Regions from separate parts of the Homo sapiens genome. Here region 2 is linked to region 1. The links are contacts of gene promoters, found by promoter capture Hi-C in blood cells and fetal thymus (Javierre and others, 2016). All regions are on one chromosome and are shown on one strand. Each heading gives the region's core, a stretch centred on a gene start or on the middle of the fragment in contact. The rest is flanking DNA. Distances are from core to core; before and after follow the strand shown.

Evidence for each region. Contacts are between HindIII fragments. The CHiCAGO score rates a contact against its expected background, and 5 or more counts as called.
Region 2: a fragment that was not itself captured here is called in contact with the fragment with the promoter of TIGAR in region 1 in 1 of 17 cell types (naive B cells); the score reaches 5.3 in naive B cells.

What each region holds. Positions count from the first base shown.
Region 1 is chr12:4,316,316-4,322,617 of GRCh38, forward strand. It overlaps TIGAR (TP53 induced glycolysis regulatory phosphatase), which reads left to right and starts at 4,898. Exons shown (of 6, transcript NM_020375.3): 1 at 4,898-4,988. The coding sequence starts at 4,957. RefSeq lists an enhancer at 4,490-5,143 and a silencer at 4,609-4,988. The HindIII fragment of the contact is 10,388 bases long and covers 1-6,302 here.
Region 2 is chr12:3,758,249-3,764,815 of GRCh38, forward strand. No RefSeq gene overlaps it. Among named protein-coding and RNA genes, the nearest start is that of CRACR2A, 8.4 kb to the left of the region's middle. The HindIII fragment of the contact is 1,923 bases long and covers 679-2,601 here.

The sequences.
Region 1 (6,302 bases), core at 3,648-6,147:
GAGGCGGGAGGCGGGAGGCAGGAGGATCACTTTAGCCTGGGAGGCAGAGGTTGTAGTGAGCTGAGAGCACACCACTGCACTCCAGCCTGGGGCAATGGGAGTGAAACCCTGTCTCAAAAAAAAAAAACAAACATATATACACATATTTTTTATATATGTATTTATATACGTATACACACACATACACACAAATACATGTATATACATATATACATATATGTACACACATCCTGCTTATAAAATGAACAAGGAGTTCACGTAAACTAATTCAGATAGAACCTGGAAATATATATATAGGGGTATTTCTGGCTTCTCTCTGAATATATATGGATACACACACACACACACACACACATATATACACATACATACATATATGGGTGTTTCTAGCTTCTATCTGAAATACAGTTTAAGTGAACTCCCTGTTCATTTTATAAGTGGAAGGGCAATCCCTGAACCACTGAGTGAATAATGCAGGACAATGTCCACTATTTTGAAGACACCTCATTTTTCAACCTGGTTTTTGCCCCTGATTAGTTTTTCGTTGCTGTTTTTTTTTTTGTTTTTTTGTTTTGTAGCCGTGGTCTCGCTCTGTCGCCAGGCTGAAGTGCAGTGGCACGATCTCGGCTCACTGCAACCTCTGCCTCCCGGGTTCAAGCGATTCTTCTGCCTCAGCCTCCTGAGTAGCTGGGACTACAGGTGCACACCACCACTCCCAGCTAATTTTTGTATTTTTGGTAGAGACGGGGTTTGCCCATATTGGCCAGGATGGTCTTGATCTCTTGACCTAGTGATCTGCCTGCCTTAGCCTCCCAAAGTGCTGGGATTACAGGCATGAGCCACCGCGCCTGGCCCCTGATTCTTAAAATTTATGAAGAATTGTTTTTTAATTTATTCCTTAGATAATTAAAAGAAATAACATTGGTGGATGCCTTGCAACTTTCTAAATTTCTCCTAAAACAATAATCCTCTCCAATATGTCAGCTTTTTTAAATATGTATGCTTCATTAGACAAACTGATCATAACAGGTATTCTTCATTCATTTGACAGATTTTAATGGAATCTCCACTGTGTTCCAAACATTTTCTTAGGAACCAAGGAAGTAATGAAATAGAGCCAGTAGTTACCCTCATGATTTATAGTTTTGAAACCTGGAGTATACTTATCTGGTCTCAAACTCAGTTCTGAGATCTTGAGAGATGGGAAATTAGTTTTTGTTTGTTTGTTTGTTTTTGGAGATGAAGTCTCACTCTGTCGCCCAGGCTGGAGTGCAGTGGCATGATCTTGGCTCTGCAACCTCTGCCTCCCGGGTTCAAGCAATTCCCCTGCCTCAGCCTCCCGAATAGCTGGGATTACAGGCACCTACCACCACGCCCGGCTACTTTTTGTGTTTTAGTGGAGGAGGGGTTTCACCATGTTGGCCAGGCTGGTCTCCAACTCCTGAGCTCAAGTGATCCGCCCGCCTCGGCCTCCCAAAGTGCTGGGATTACAGGCGTGAGCCACTGTGCCTGGCCCAAGAAATGGGAAATTAGTTAACCTGTATGTGCCTTAATTCTTCATCTGTGAAATGGAAATAACTCCTACCTTGCAGAGTTACTGTGTGTATTAAATAAGACAAAATGGGAAGCTGTTTTTATTTAGGCGTTAGAAATGCACTTGGACCACCTTAAAGTGAAAGAGGTTTTACTATACAAACCGGAACTTTCAAGGTATCTGGGACTATGGCAGTTTGAGCGACCAGTGACTGGGTACTCCTTGCATTACTCACTTGTGTCTGTGTCTCTCTGTGTGTCTCTTTGCTTCTTCCATTGACTTTGCTTCTTCGTACCCTCTCCTCTGTTCTCTCACTTGTATTATTTATGGCTTCTGTTTCTTCACAGCTTCAATCACCATGCCCCTTCATAGCCCTAACTCTATCCTATGATTTCTTTCTGTGCTTTCTTTCTGCTTCACCCCTCACAGATAACTACTTAATTTCATTTTTTCAGCTCAAACTTCCAGGAGAATCTGCTGGGATGATTCATTCATTTGGGCATTCAGAACACGGACACGGACACACACACACACACACACACACACACACACACACACACACACACACACACACGATATCTGGGCCCCACTGTTAGGGCCCTCTGAATTATCCCTCCACTCTCATCCTGAAAATGCCTCCTGTTGACCTGCAAGCTGTTAGAGATGCTGAATTTGGTCCCCACTCCAATCTACTAACTCCAGAATCTACATTTTAACACTATGCCCAACTGCTTTGTGTGCACGTTCGAGTTTGTGAAGCATTGCTTTAAACTGCTAGCTCTCAGAACAGCCACTTGTATGTTGGAAACAGCTGGGGATTAAAAGCATACAGATACTGCTGCCTGAGTCTTTCCCCCAGAAGTTCAGATTTGATTTTTCTGGGGTGTAGCCTGGCAAAGGTCTCCAGACGATTCTAATGTAAAGATAGGTTTGAGGACCTCTAAACTAGTTCTGTGTCACCGCTGACCAGTTGTGTGAGCCTAGACAAATCGCTGTCTCTCTCTCGGCCATATTTCTTTTTTTTTTTTTTTGAGATGGGGTCTTGCTCTGTCACCCAGGCTGGAGTGCAGTGTTGGAATCTCGGCTCACTGCAACCTCTGCCTCCCGGGTTCAAACGATTCTCCTGCCTCAGCCTCCCTAGTAGCTGCGACTACAGGCACGTGCCACCATGCCCGGCTAATTTTTTGTATTTTTAGTAGAGATGGGGTTTCACCGTGTTAGCCAAAATGGTCTCTATCTCCTGACCTGCAGATTCTCCTGACCTGCCTTGGCCTCCCAAAGTGCTGGGATTACAGGCGTGAGCCACCATGCCCGGCCATATTTCTCATCTCTAAAGTGAAGATAATGTAGCCTATCCTGTCTACCTTAGAATTGTTCAGAAGGCCAAATGTGATATTACATGTAAGACTGTTTTGAAATGTGTGCCTATGAATCTAAGTATCTCATTCATCTCTTCTCTAAACACATCTTTTCATATATAAGTGGGGATTCAAGGAAATAAATGCATTATGAAATACAAGAATTTAGGTAACAGTGCATGGAAGACAATGTCACCTAGCTAACATTATTGTTACTTGTGTCACATTGCTAGGTACTGCTATCCCAGTTTACCTGTCACAAAACCCAGGGTTAGAGAAGCTCATGTTATAAATAAACTTTCAGTGCCACAAAAGAAATAGCACTCGAATATAAAATTTTCTTTTTAATTCTCAGCAAGGCAAGGTACTTCTATAGAAGGGTGCGTCCTTACAGATGGAGCAATGGTGAGCGCACACTTGGACAAGGGAGGGGAAGGGGTTCTTATCCCTGACGCACGTGGCCCCTGCTGCTGTGTAGTGCCCCACCGCACAGGCTAAACTAATTCCGATTGGCTAATCTAAAGAGAGTGATGGGGGTGAGTGGTTTGGCGGGAAAAACAGTTATGACAGAGCAGGTAATCTGAGTCAGGGTGGCGTAGGTAATGGGAAGGAGTCAGGGTGGAGTAGGTAATGGGAAGGAGTCAGGGTGGAGTAGGTAATGGGAAGGAGTCAGAGTGCAGCAGGTAATCGAAAAAGGTTGTGGCCGGGCGCGGTGGCTCACGCCTGTAATCCCACCACTTTGGGAGGTCGAGGCGGGCGGATCACGAGGTCAGGAGATCGAGACCATCCTGGCTAACACGGTGAAACCCTGTCTCTACTAAAAATACAAAAAATTAGCCGGGCGTGGTGGCAGGCGCCTGTAGTCCCAGCTACTCGGGAGGCTGAGCCAGAATGGCGTGAACCCGGGAGGCGGAGCTTGCAGTGAGCCGAGATCACACCACTGCACTCCAGCCTGGGTGACAGAGCCAGACTCCATCTCAAAAAAATAAATAAATAAATAAAAAAGAGAAGGTTGCTTTAGGAGGAAGTTAAGTTTAAAAGTAAAAAGCAAAGAATTGAACATACTGACATATTGATTCTTTGAAAAGAAATTTAGAACTCATATCTAACATGAAGCAACTCCCTCAACGTTCTGAAGGCTATTAAAGAGAAATTATTCATCTGAGGCTTGTTAAAAACGGCAAGACTTTACTCAAGACTACTGCAATAGGTGAGAGAGACTGAATTCGACTCTAGAATACAACCGGGACCAGTGGAGATTTATAGCCAGGGGGCGGGATGGAAGGGATGAAAGAGAAGATGGGAAATTACCAGAACGTGGTAAGCTATCTGGGGGAGGGGGAGGAGGAACTTTACTAGATATCAAGGGCCTTAGAAGAGAGCATCAACAGTGAGGTCTCTCTTGATAAACAGGCTTAGCAGGATTCTTTGGTAAAACCAGGCTCAGCAGGCCGAGGATGCCGTCTAGTATAGAAAAGGCCTCAAAGGAGCCCGACTAAAGTTTGGTCACGGAGGGCGTCTGTCCCGGCGGAGTTGGGGTGGGTGGGTCTAAGTCTACAGACCTGGCCGACGCTACGTCCCTAAGGTTAGGGACTAACAGACCTCATAGAACACAGTCTGTTGGTCGCTGTACACCCGTGAGGGGTTCATCACAGTGGCCAGCTATAAGACGAACGGTTGCATTCCAGCCTCAATCGCAACAACCACAAATCAGTGCGCCGGCTTCCTTATCTGCCCCGAACGCAGGCTGCCGGCTATCGAGGGAAGGAATCCTACCGCGGACTCCGCGGGCGGGGCCTCCCGCACCTGCCGCGCGCCAATCACAGGCCGGCGCGCAGGGGCGCAAGCGCCGCAGCCCTGGGCGGGGCCCCCGTGGCTCCCTCGTCTCCCCCGCCCCGTCGGCCTCGCCCGGCCCTGAGTGGCCTTCGGGGATGACGTGCGAGGCCGCCTCGGCCTATGGCGGCGGAGCCGGCCGGCTGCTTGGCGGAAGTGGTGTGGGGGAGGTAGCCCGCAGTGCAGGGGCAGCGCGGCGCGGGGCCACCGACGGGACGCGGCTCCGGGAACATGGCTCGCTTCGCTCTGACTGTTGTCCGGCAGTGAGTATGGCTGTGGCAGGATGTCTTTCTCTCTCTCTTCCTTGAGTGTGTTGGAGCGGGTGAAGGGAAAACGGGTCCACCACCCTCTCCCCTCCCTGCTCGCTCCAGCCCGGGAGGGCTGGCTTGGAAGCGCTTTTTCCGGGGCGCTTGCCCTGGGGCCGTCCCGTGTCGCCCCTCCTCTCACCCCAGCAGCCCCGAGGGACGACGGCAGGTCTTAGATAGCTTCGTTCCGTGTTTCAGATAAAGTGAGGCCCGGAGGAGCAAGGGATCGGGGTTCGTAGGCACTTGGTGGCTGCACCAAAAACGGTGCCAGACATGTCCACAGACTTGTCTGGGTACCGATTTTGCTCCCCAGCAGATTGCAAAGAGTTTGCAGAATTGCTCGTCCATGGCTGATGTTTTTGATGCCGGCTGCCTTCCGCTATCCTCTCAGTTTCTGAGGTTCCCCCTCGTTTCCCCAGGCAGTCAGCCCCCCAGGCACATATATGAGACTTCTTTCTTTTCCCCAGAGGTTACAGTTCTGGGAGAGAAAAGAGGATCACAGCTCTGATCTCAGCAGACCGTATCATCCCAAATAAATGTTTTTATTATCATAACGTTACACGGAGCTGCATGCTGATAGGTCTTTATGTATTTGCCAAGTGTTAACGGGAGGTGAAAATCAGGGTAGTTAAGAGCACAGATTTTTATTTTTATTTTTTTTTTTTTGTGAGATGGAGCCTCGCTCTGTCACCCAGGCTGGAGTGCAGTGGCGCTATCTCTGCTCACTGCAACCTCCCGCCTCCGGGGTTCAAGCGATTCTCCTGCTTCAGCCTCCCGAGTAGCTGGGATTACAGGCATGCGCCACCACGCCCGGCTAATTTTTGTATTTTTAGTAGAGACAGGGTTTCGCCATGTTGGTCAGGCAGGTCTGGAACTCCTGACCTTAAGTGATCCGACTACCTCGGCCTCGCAAAGTGTTGGGATTACAGGCATGAGCCACCGCGCCCTGCTAAGAGCACAGATTTTTCAGGCAAGGTAGACCTCGGTTGGAGTCTGTTCTCCAGCTAAGAGCCAGGTAGCCTGGACTTAAGTTTCCTGATATGCAAATGATAGTGCGTATCTCACTACTTTAATGCGAGAATTAAATGGGGGACAGGTAAAGTGTATGATGCAACAGGGAAAGAAATATATCTGAGAAATAACTTCTATAAAGAAAGCTCCAATAAAAGTGCAGTTGATTCCCAAATACGAACGTATAGTTCAGCACACCAGCATTTTGAGTAGGTAATGTGTGCCAGTAGACTGGATCATACAGATAAATAACATACCATT
Region 2 (6,567 bases), core at 390-2,889, 560 kb before region 1:
CATAATTCTGCTTTCCCATGAGTGCACATGCATACACACAAGACCCAACCACAGTATCTTGACCGTGAATATAATAAATAAGGAAATAACAAATGTAGTAAGGTGAAGGAGGGGGTTCTGTCAGCCCAAGAATGTTCTAGGCCTAGTGTTTGGTGGAGCCAACCAGCTCCTACAAGCCAGCGAAAACAAAGAAAAGTGCCTGGCCATTTCATTACAGAGTGCTTCCCAATAATCTAATTCCTCCACCATCAAAATTTGGTCAGGGAACATCACCATTTTTAGAGAGATGCTTTGTTTTGATAAAACAACCCTTCTGTATTAGTCTCTTCTCATGCTGCTGATCAAGACTTACCTGAGACTGGGTAATTTATAAACGAAAAGAGGTTTAGTGGACTCACAGTTCCATGTGGCTGGGGAGGCCTCACAATCATGGTGGAGGGCAAAAGGCACGTCTTATATGGTGGCAGACAAGAGAGAGCTTGGGCAGGGAAACTCCCCTTTATCAAACCATCAAATCTCGTGAGACTTATTCACTATCACAAGAACAGCACAGGAAAGACCCACCCCTATGATTCAATTACCTCCCACCAGGTCCCTCCCATGACAAATGGGAATTGTGGGAGCTACAATTCAAGAGGAGATTTGAGTGGGGACACAGCCAAACTATATCACCTTCTAAGCTTATGTCTCACTATTCACCCACAAATAGGCTGTAAAGAGCCCAGCATTTGCTTTCTAGCAATGGTGTCATACCAGCTTTGCTTTCCCTGCCTGCAGGGCCCTCCATGCATCTCTGTTTAAAGTCTAAAGCCAGATCCAGCTTTCATGCTGCCTACTGCAGAAAGACACCTCTGGTGTTTCTCAACCAGAGGAGCCTCCCCACCTCTCAATTCCGGACCACTTCTCTTAAAAACATGACCAATGATGCCAAAAGTCTAATTTATGTGTAGAGTTGGTGTTGCAGAGTAGAAGGGGATTGAGAGGTTGAGACTAAATAACTACTCAGCTTTGAACATGTCAGGAAGTTTATCTGTTCTTCGGCTTCCTAATCTGTAAAATGTAGTTAGGGACAGGATCTACCTGATGAGGTTGTTGTGAGACGTAAATGAAATAATTCACATAAAAAGCAACTAGTACAGTGCCTGGTACATAGTCAAGGCTTACAGTGTCAGGAAAGGAAAAAGGAAGGGAGGGAGGGAGGGAGGAAGGAGAGGAAGAGGGAAAAGCAAAGCAAAGAGAATGACACCAGCCTAGGCAACACAGTGACACCCCATCTCTACAAAAAATTATAAATTAAAAAAAAATTAGCCAGGCATGGTGGCTGATATGGTTTGGATTTGTGTCCCCACCCAAATCTCATGTCGAATTGTAATCCCTAATGTTGGAGGAGGAGCCTGGTGGGAGGTGACTGGATCATGGGGAAGGATTTTCCCCCTTGCTATTCTCATGATAGTGAGTGAGTTCTCACAAGATCTGGTTGTTTAAAAGTTGATATGGTTTGGCTGTGTGCCCACTCAAATCTCAACTTGAACTGTATCTCCCAGAATTCCCACGTGTTATGGGAGGGACCCAGGGGGAGGTAGTTGAATCATGGGGGCCAGTGTTTCTTGTGCTATTATCATGATAGTAAGTCTCACAAGATCTGATGGGTTTATCAGGAGTTTCTGCTTTTGCTTCTCTCTCATTCTCTCCTGCCACACTATGTAAGAAGTGCCTTTCCCCCCCCACCATGATTCTGAGGCCTCCCTAGCCATGTGGAACTGTAAGTCCAATTAAACCTCTTTCTTTCCCCAGTCTCGGGTATGTCTTATCAGCAGCATGAAAAGGGACTAATGAAACGTGTATAGCACTTCCCTTTTTGCTCTCTTCCTCAAGCTCCAGCCATGTAGGATGTGCCTGTTCCACCTTCACCTTCTGCCATGATTGTAAATTTCCTGAGGTCTCCCCAGACATGCTTCCTGGAACCATGAGCCAACTAAATCTCTTTTCTTTATAAATTACCCAGTCTCAGGTAGTTCTTTATAACCATGTGAGAATGGACTAATACAGTGGCACACACCTGTAGTGAGCTATGATAACGCCACTGCACTCCAACCTAGGCAACAGAGCAAGACCCTGTCTCTGAAAAGAAAGAAAGAAAAGAAAAAGAGAGAGAGAGAAAGAAAGAAAGAAAGAGAGAGAGAGAGATAGAAAGGAGGGAGGGAGGGAGGGGGAGGGGAGGGGAGGGAAAAGAAAAGAAAAGAAGCAAGCAAGAAGAGAAGGAAGAAGGAAGGAAGGAGGGAAAAAATATCCTCCTCTCTCTACTGAAGTCAAAAGCACCATTGCCTCTTCTTAGATGAAATACATATATGACCTCCTTGGAGGCACAATTTTATGTAACAATGACACCAAAGATCATGGAAAGGGTGAGATCAATTAATTTTTTAGATCTCCTATGTAAAGACATTGGCTGAATTCTGAATTCCATTAGAAACTGAATATTTTCAGGATGGAAGGAAATGCAGCAAGTCACCCTGTCCAACGCCCATTGATTTTCAGCTAAGGGAACTGAGATCTGCAAAGGGTAAGAGCCCACTGGCTGCAGCTGAGTCCAGATTGGAAAGCTTCCAGCCCAGACCTCCTCCCCTCCTGCACATCCCCTCTCCCAGCTGGGGAGAGACACCATAAAAACCTGATGTCCAGAGAAGAACTTCTGGCATAAGAGTGTGAAGAGGTCGATAATCTATTTCCTCAAAAAGCAACTATAGTCCCCACTCAAAACTGTCAAAAACAACCATTTCATTTCCCAAAAATGACTGGAGGCGTGCAACAAACTGAGAAGTGCTTATATTCGTGAAAACTACTAAACTTACAGCAACATCAGCGTGAATCTGTGGTGATTTGTATGAGTCCTGCACCCCTGCCCCGCCACCAGAGTGCTGTTGTTTGATAGTTCAATGAGGGCAAGCCAGATCTTACAAACTAGCATTTTTTTGTCACTGCCAGAGGGGGTTCCCTTGACTTGAAGCAGTATTATTTAAGCGATGATCTCAGAGGCAAGTAATCAGAAAGGACCAGAAGCTCTTCTGGCCTGAAACTGCAGAGCAAGCAATGGGCTAGTGACTAGCTGGGTACTTAACAGGGAGTTCCAGGAGGTGAAGCAGATATGAGGGGATTAGTAAACTCTCCCCATATTATGAGTTAAACAGAGGTCGTATGCATATGCTGCAGAAACGGGAACATCCTAAGCCACCCACACATTCCTGGCCAGTGGAGTCTTCCCCATGTACAGTGGAGATGCAAGGGCTCAGGGGAAAAGAGAAGCCTCGGCAGACTTGGGGGGAAAATGCCTGAAATTTTGATGCACTCTCCAGCTGACTCACAAATCTGCCAGCAGAAAGTAGAAATCTCACTGGCTCGAGATATTTGAGCATAACCTCTGACCAATCTTTGGCTGAACGCTAATCTAGGCAGACACATGGGCAACTCTAGGAAGCCAGGCTTAAGAATAAGAAACAAGGCCAGCTGGCCGGGCACGGTGGCTCATGCCTGTAATCCCAGCACTTTGGGAGGCCGAGGTGAGCGGATCACGAGGTCAGGAGTTCGAGACCAGCCTGACCAACATGGTGAAACCCCGTCTCTACTAAAAATACAAAAATTAACCAGGCGTGGTGGCGCGCACTTGTAATCCCAGTTACTCAGGAGGTTGAGGCAGGAGAACTGCTTGAACCCAGGAGGTGAAGGTTGCAGTGAACCAAAATTATGCCACAGCACTCCAGCCTGGGCGATAAAGTGAGACTCGGTCTCAAAAAAAAAAAAAAAGAAACAAGGCCAGGAGTGGTGGCTCACGCCTGTAATCCCAGCATTTTGGGAGGCCGAGGCGGGTGGATCATGAGGTCAGGAGATTGAGACCATCCTGGCTTACACAGTGAAACCCTGTCTCTACTAAAAATACCAAAAAAAAAATTAGCGGGGTGTGATGGCATGCTCTTATAGTCCCAGCTACTCAGGAGGCTGAGGCAAGAGAATCATTTGAACCCAGGAGGCAGAGGTTGCAGTGAGCCGAGATCACACCACTGCACTCCAGCCTGGACAACAGAGCAAGACTCTGTCTCAAAAACAAACAAACAAAAAAGAATAAGAAACAAGAAAAACAGTAGCAGAGACAGTCATAGATGTACGCTGCAGAGGCAAGCTTCACAGATTTCTTCCAGACAAGTTATTAAATAAACATACAAAACAATAACAATAGCAACACTCAAATTAAAATTAAAATCCAAAGTTGCTACAATATACTATGTAAAATATCCAGTTTTCAACAAAAAAATGATAAGGCAGGCAAAGCAACACAAAGGTATGACCATATTCAGGAAAAAAAAAAAGGAGTCAGTTGAAATTGTCTCTGAATGTCCCTGGATGTTGGGTCTAGCAGACAGTTTTTAAAGCAGTTATTAGAAATATGTTCAAGGAACTACAGGAAACCATGTTTAAAATTTTAAGGAAAGTATGACAACAATAAATAAACAATATCAACAAAAGAAATTACACGAATGAATCAATTCTAAAACAATGGATGTCACAAGGCAGTGAAATGACATATTCGAAATGGTGAAAAATATCTGTCAACAAATTACTTACATCCATCAAAACTATCCTTCACAAATGAAGGCAAAGTAAAGACATTCCCAGGTAACCAAAGAGTGAGACAATGTTTTGCTAGCAAATGTACCTCACGATAAATACTAATGGAAGTCCTTTAGGCTTAAAGAAAGTAACACCATAAGATACTCAAATCCACAGAAAGAAAGGAAGCAGTTCAGAAATTATAAATATGTGGGTAAATATAAAAGACTCCATAAATATAGTTTTTCCAATTTTTTTCTCTTCTTTAAAAGACATAAAATTGTATAAAGCAAAACTTATAACACTGTATTGTTGGGTATATAACACACATAGAAATTGATACGATAATGATGGAACAAAGGAGGGTAGGGAAAAGAAATAAATATTGCAGCAATATTTTTAGAATTAATGTAGTATTATTCTGAATTAGATTGCAAGAAGTTGAGATGCACATTGTAATTCCTAAAACACCTAAGAATATAACTCAAAAATACAGCAGAAAAATCAACAGAGGAATTAAAATGCTACACTAAAAATATTCATTTAACATGAAAGACGGAGATAAAAGAGGAGCAAAGGAATAATAACAAAAAAATGAGAAAAATAGAAAACACACAGAAAAATAACAAATATCAATCCATACCAACAATTACACAAAATATAAATGGACTAAATGCCCTACTCAAAAGGAACAGGTTTTCAGACTGGATAAAAAAGAACAAGACCAAATTTTTGTATGTTTGTATATGCTGTCTACGAGAAACATAGCTTAGCTTCAAAGAAACAAGAAACACAGCTTAGCTTCAAAGAAACAAAGAAAATTAAATGTAAAAGGATGGAGGACTTCCAGTTTCAGCTATGACATGTGAAGAGCTTAGAAGTTATCACTTCCATTCTTACAAGATAAAAGCTGCACAAATGGAAAACAAACTTTTCTTAGAGCCATCAGAAAATTGAGATCGCAGGGCAAAGAAGCACCCTGAAATCTAGAGAGACAAGTGAATACAGAGAACCACAGCCTAGGTCAGCTCTTGTAAAGCAGAAGCCACGACAGCCGTAAATGGACAGAAACACTTACAGTAATTCTGATGGATTGCTGGGGGTCGAGTATGGATTTGCTTGAGAGAGTAATTCCTGGAGATGCAGTGTTAGTGTGCTTCCCCCACTACACTTTGATGGATTTTACCTTCAGGAGCCTCACCAGATTCTCACAGTGAATATCCAACAAAAAAATCCCTTATGTTTCAGGCAGGGGTGAGGGGAAAAGTAACCATTTAAAATGCCAAAGCATTCTCCATTTCAAGGGCCTACTCTCCGAGGGAACCAACTTTACCAGAGCCTTATCTACCTGAGAGAAGGACGATTAGCCAACTTCAGCTCCTTCTAGCTTTCCTGTCTCACTTGAAGGAAGGGAAAAACAAAACGAAACAAAAAACATCTGAAGGTTATAGCCCAGAGACTCAGGAAAAAAAAAAAAAAAAGGAGTCAATTGAAATTGTCTCTGAATGTCCCTGGATGTTGGGTCTAGGAGACAGTTTTTAAAGCAGTTATTAGAAATATGTTCTACTAAAATAAAATAAGCCTGAGATTTAATCATAAAATTATAGATCATTTCACCTCACCAACACCTTTTGTATTAGGGTTCTCTAGAGGGACAGGACTAATAGGATAGATGCATATATGAAAGGGAGTTTATTAAGGAGTATTGACTCACAAGATCAGAAGATGAAGTCCCACAATAGACCGTCTGGAAGCTAGGGAGCAAGGAAGCCAGTCTGAATCCCAAAACCTCAAAAATAGAGAACGCGACAGGGCAGTCTTCAGTTTGTGGCCAAAGGCCCAAGAACCCCTGGCAAACCACTGGTGGAGGTCCAAGAGTCCAAAAGCTGAGGAATTTAGAGTCCGCTGTTCCAGGGCAGGAAGCATCCAGCACGGGAGAAAGATGGAGGCCAGAAGACTTAGCTA